Regions from separate parts of the Homo sapiens genome. Here region 1 is linked to region 2. The links are contacts of gene promoters, found by promoter capture Hi-C in human tissues and cell types (Jung and others, 2019). All regions are on one chromosome and are shown on one strand. Each heading gives the region's core, a stretch centred on a gene start or on the middle of the fragment in contact. The rest is flanking DNA. Distances are from core to core; before and after follow the strand shown.

Region 1 (2,700 bases), core at 73-2,572, 110 kb before region 2:
TGTGAGTTTCCCAAACAGCATAATTAAGAGAGATAGCCTTCGAAAAAGGTCTGTACGAGATCTGGAACCTGGTGAGGTGCCTTCTGATTCTGACGAAGATGGTGAACACAAATCCCACTCACCCAGAGCCTCTGCATTATATGAAAGTTCTCGATTGTCTTTTTTATTGAGGGACAGAGAAGACAAGCTACGTGAGCGAGATGAAAGACTCTCTAGTTCTTTAGAAAGGAACAAATTTTACTCTTTTGCATTGGATAAGACAATCACACCAGACACTAAAGCTTTGCTTGAAAGAGCTAAATCCCTCTCTTCATCTCGTGAAGAAAATTGGTCTTTTCTTGATTGGGACTCCCGATTTGCAAATTTTCGAAACAACAAAGATAAAGAAAAGGTTGACTCTGCTCCAAGACCTATTCCATCCTGGTACATGAAAAAGAAGAAAATTAGGACTGATTCAGAAGGGAAAATGGATGATAAGAAAGAGGACCATAAAGAAGAAGAGCAAGAGAGGCAGGAATTGTTTGCTTCTCGTTTTTTACACAGCTCAATCTTTGAACAAGATTCCAAGCGATTGCAGCATCTAGAGAGAAAAGAGGAAGATTCTGACTTCATTTCTGGTAGGATCTATGGGAAGCAGACATCTGAGGGAGCAAACAGCACAACTGATTCCATTCAAGAACCAGTAGTTCTGTTCCATAGCAGATTTATGGAGCTCACACGGATGCAACAGAAAGAAAAAGAAAAAGACCAGAAACCCAAAGAGGTTGAGAAACAGGAAGATACAGAGAATCATCCCAAGACCCCAGAATCTGCTCCTGAGAATAAAGATTCAGAACTGAAAACTCCACCTTCCGTTGGGCCTCCAAGTGTCACAGTCGTAACTCTAGAATCAGCCCCATCAGCACTAGAGAAGACCACTGGTGACAAAACGGTAGAGGCGCCTTTGGTAACAGAAGAGAAGACTGTGGAGCCAGCTACCGTCTCAGAAGAAGCAAAGCCTGCATCTGAACCTGCTCCTGCCCCTGTGGAACAGCTGGAACAAGTAGACCTGCCCCCAGGAGCAGACCCCGATAAAGAAGCTGCCATGATGCCTGCGGGTGTTGAGGAAGGTTCATCAGGTGACCAGCCGCCTTATCTGGATGCCAAGCCTCCAACTCCCGGGGCCTCGTTTTCCCAGGCAGAGAGCAACGTAGATCCAGAGCCTGACAGTACCCAGCCACTTTCAAAACCAGCTCAGAAGTCTGAGGAAGCCAATGAGCCAAAGGCCGAAAAGCCAGACGCCACTGCAGATGCTGAGCCTGATGCAAACCAGAAAGCCGAAGCTGCTCCTGAGTCTCAGCCCCCAGCTTCTGAAGATTTAGAGGTTGATCCTCCAGTTGCTGCAAAGGATAAAAAGCCAAACAAAAGCAAGCGTTCAAAGACCCCTGTTCAGGCAGCTGCAGTGAGTATCGTGGAGAAGCCCGTCACAAGGAAGAGTGAGAGGATAGACCGGGAAAAACTCAAGCGGTCCAATTCTCCTCGGGGAGAAGCACAGAAGCTTTTGGAATTGAAGATGGAGGCAGAGAAGATTACAAGGACTGCTTCTAAAAACTCTGCTGCAGACCTTGAACATCCCGAACCAAGTTTGCCTCTCAGCCGAACAAGGCGCCGGAATGTAAGGAGCGTCTATGCAACCATGGGTGACCATGAAAACCGCTCTCCTGTCAAAGAGCCCGTTGAGCAACCAAGAGTGACCAGAAAGAGATTGGAGCGAGAGCTTCAGGAGGCTGCAGCGGTTCCCACCACCCCTCGGAGGGGAAGGCCTCCAAAGACACGCCGGCGAGCCGATGAAGAGGAGGAGAACGAGGCCAAGGAACCTGCAGAAACACTCAAGCCACCTGAGGGATGGCGGTCGCCAAGGTCCCAGAAAACTGCAGCTGGTGGTGGACCCCAAGGGAAAAAGGGAAAAAATGAACCGAAGGTGGATGCTACACGTCCTGAGGCCACCACTGAGGTGGGCCCCCAAATAGGCGTGAAAGAGAGCTCCATGGAACCCAAGGCTGCTGAGGAGGAGGCAGGGAGTGAACAGAAACGTGACAGAAAAGATGCTGGCACAGACAAAAACCCCCCTGAAACCGCCCCTGTTGAAGTTGTAGAGAAAAAACCGGCCCCTGAAAAAAACTCCAAATCAAAGAGAGGAAGATCTCGAAACTCCAGGTTAGCAGTGGACAAATCTGCAAGTCTGAAAAATGTGGATGCTGCTGTCAGTCCCAGGGGGGCTGCAGCACAGGCAGGGGAGAGGGAATCTGGGGTGGTGGCAGTCTCCCCTGAGAAAAGTGAGAGTCCCCAAAAGGAGGATGGTTTATCATCCCAGTTGAAAAGTGATCCAGTTGATCCAGACAAGGAACCAGAGAAAGAAGACGTGTCTGCCTCTGGGCCGTCCCCAGAAGCCACCCAGTTAGCCAAGCAGATGGAGCTGGAGCAGGCCGTGGAACACATCGCAAAGCTCGCTGAGGCCTCTGCCTCTGCTGCCTATAAGGCAGATGCACCAGAGGGCCTTGCCCCAGAGGACAGGGACAAGCCTGCACACCAAGCAAGTGAAACAGAGCTGGCTGCGGCCATCGGCTCCATCATCAATGACATTTCTGGGGAGCCAGAAAACTTCCCAGCACCTCCACCTTATCCTGGAGAATCCCAGACAGATCTGCAACCCCCCGCAGG
Region 2 (2,700 bases), core at 59-2,558:
GGTTCATGCAGAGCGGCAACCCCCATCCCACCTCCCACAACACACACCTTCAATTTTGATTTGACTTGCCTGGCATCTAGGGGCAAAGGGTGGCCCAGGGTCCCAGATTTTAACAATCATCCAAGGGCCATCATGTTATTCAGAGAGTGGCTTTGTCTGGGTAGGACTGGAGGCAATTGCCCCCAACATCTTGCCCCAAAGTGGCATCAGACACAACTCTTCTGTTCTGTGCCCAAACCATTGCCCTGGTTCAGCCTCAGGAGCTGGAGGAGCTTTGGGCAGGGGAAGAGCTGCACAGTGTGGGGCTGGGTTCAGCCTCTGCTGTGTGACCTTGGATGAGTGACTCACCTCTCTGACCATCTACAAAATGGCGAGGCTCTCCCCATTCACAGGGTGTGGGGAGGAGGACTTGAGCTGCGGATGTGACGCTTCTGACACGTTGCAGGCACACGGCACGTGCTTGTTCCTCGCCATGTCCCCTCACACCTGTGCTGCCATCCTCTGTTGGGGTGGGACAAACTCTGTGGAATTACCCAGAAGTCCCCACCAGAGCCGCTGGCCCTTGGACGTGTGCTTTGAGAGGCATTTCCTGAGCCTGGAGGGTCTGGACACAGGATCAAGTCTGAGTTCCTGACCCCAATTCACTGCCTTGCCCCAGGTGTCGGCCTCCTCGCCAGCCCTGGACAAGATGGGTCATCAGGATGGGACCGTGTGGCACAGCCTGCGGGCTTTGGAGCCAGGCAAACCTGGGCTGGGAATCCTGGCGCTGCCTCGGCCTCCGTGATCTTAGACGGGCAGCCCCACCTCCCTGAGACACCATTTCTCTACAACGGGATCACGCTGCCTGCCTCGTGGGATTTCCGTGGGCACTCAGGGTAATTAATCTAGGGGAAGGCTGACTCTCTACCTGGCACACAGGGAGGCTGTGGTCATGCTGGCCCCACTCACCTTTGCCGGCCTGCTTTCTCCTTCTCTGCCCAGCCTCCTCCCCTCTCCCTCTGTGCTTTTCCAAACCTTCCATGTCCAGCTCTGAGACCCCTGGACCCTGAGCCTCAGCCTTGGCAGATGACCCCTCTCTGTCCTGCTGTGTGCGTGAGCTCCCCCTTCCCAGCCCCCGTCCAGCAGCACCCAGGAGCCTGAGTACAGCTGGGCACCACCCTCTGTGCAGCTATGGTGGGTGGGGAGGCTCCTGTTCCCCTCCCTGTTGGCAGCTCTGCTCTGCTCTGCTCCGGCCTGGGCAGTTCTGATCGGTTTTCAAGGACATTCTAAGTGTTCGCCATAAACCCTGGGCCCAGGCGGGAAAGGGGGGAGGATGTTGATTGTTGGAACACACACCTGTCCAGGTGCAGGGGAGCTGGAGGCTCTGTGAGAGGAGGGCCAGCTCAGCCACAGCAGGAGGACTGACAGGTGAGGGGTCGCTGCAAGATGCTGGGGCCTGCCAGGGCCAGACAGGCAGGGCGGGGGGGGGGGGGTGGTAAGGGCAGGAGCCAGCACCTCACTTTGGCCCTGGTGGGATCTTCTTCTGGGCCTGGGGTTTTGCTGCCTCTGTGGCCTGAGCTGGGGTCAGGGGTGCTCATAGGTGGACAGGGAGAGTCAGAGCCATCCATGGGACTCTGCAGTGAGAGTGTCACAGCCCTGGGCAGAGACTGCTCCCAGCAGTGGAAGCGCCAAGTGACCCAGGAGGGTGGGAGCGGCTGCCACCGAAGGGGAAGGGGCTCTGAGCAGGGCTTGGGCTCCGGCCTGTGCCCAGTCTGCTGCTGGACACAGGGGGACACCTAGGAATCCCACCCCCATCCCACACAATGACACACACAGGCACACACCCTCAGTGACGGAAACTCAGGGATGAAGGCACACACAGACCTAGTGTGATAACTTCACATACACACACACACACACACACACGCACAATCTTTCCTCTTCATGGGTGGGGAGAGCACTGGAAGGGCCTAGAGGCAGTGCGAGGACGTGCAGCAGCTCACCGCGGTCCCTCCCTCTATCCGCTTCTCCAGGGGCCTGATGGAGGAGTTTGTGGGGCTGCGTGAAGGCTCCTCAGGGAACCCTGTGACTCTGCAGGAGCTGTGGGGCCCCTGTCCCCGCATCCGCCGAGGCATCCGAGGTGAGAGCCAGGTCCTCTTCCCTTCCCCCTGGAGGACCACTCAGGACATCATTCCTGCCCAGCTCCCACCCCACCTCCCTGCCCAGGAACCACCCTCCTCCTGGCATTTGTCCAGGACATGACTGCCCAAAGTCTCCTGGGTGGCAGGGAGGGAAGGGGTCTGTCTGTCCAGCTGTCTGTGGGTCAGATGGGCCGGGCATCTGCCCTCTGCCTTTCGGGAGATACAGCCCAAGGCCTGGTCACTGTGCCCATCTTCCACCCAGGCCTCTCCCTCACCTACCTGTGCCAATGAGGGGACGTGGGGGTTAGCTGCTGGGACAGCTGGGGCCACAGCAAGGGGCTGGGGCAGCCTACACTTGGCACCTTTCCTTGGAGCCCCATGTGCTTTGTTCACTTTGAGACCTGACTGTCCCCTCAGCTACGGGGCAGAGCAAGTAGGGACCACAGAAGGAGGCTGACTGCAACCCCAGGGGCTGGTGCCCACAGCCAGTGAGGGCCAGCTCCCAGGCTGGGCTAGCAGCCAGTGGGCCAGGAGCATTGCTGGGGACCCAGAGGATACCTGGCGCCACAGGTCCTGGGAC

The links. Contacts are between HindIII fragments. The study calls those that stand out against the background at their distance.
Region 1: a contact is called between a fragment that was not itself captured here and the fragment with the promoter of CLCNKB in region 2, in 3 of the 25 tissues and cell types used here (aorta, dorsolateral prefrontal cortex and spleen).

Annotation. Positions count from the first base shown.
Region 1 is chr1:15,930,296-15,932,995 of GRCh38, forward strand. SPEN (spen family transcriptional repressor) reads left to right here. Exons shown (of 15, transcript NM_015001.3): 11 at 1-2,700. Among named protein-coding and RNA genes, the nearest start is that of ZBTB17, 44 kb to the right of the region's middle. The HindIII fragment of the contact is 3,713 bases long and covers 1-2,700 here.
Region 2 is chr1:16,042,474-16,045,173 of GRCh38, forward strand. CLCNKB (chloride voltage-gated channel Kb) reads left to right here and starts at 1,309. Exons shown (of 20, transcript NM_000085.5): 1 at 1,309-1,407; 2 at 2,013-2,119. The coding sequence starts at 2,020. The HindIII fragment of the contact is 23,589 bases long and covers 1-2,700 here.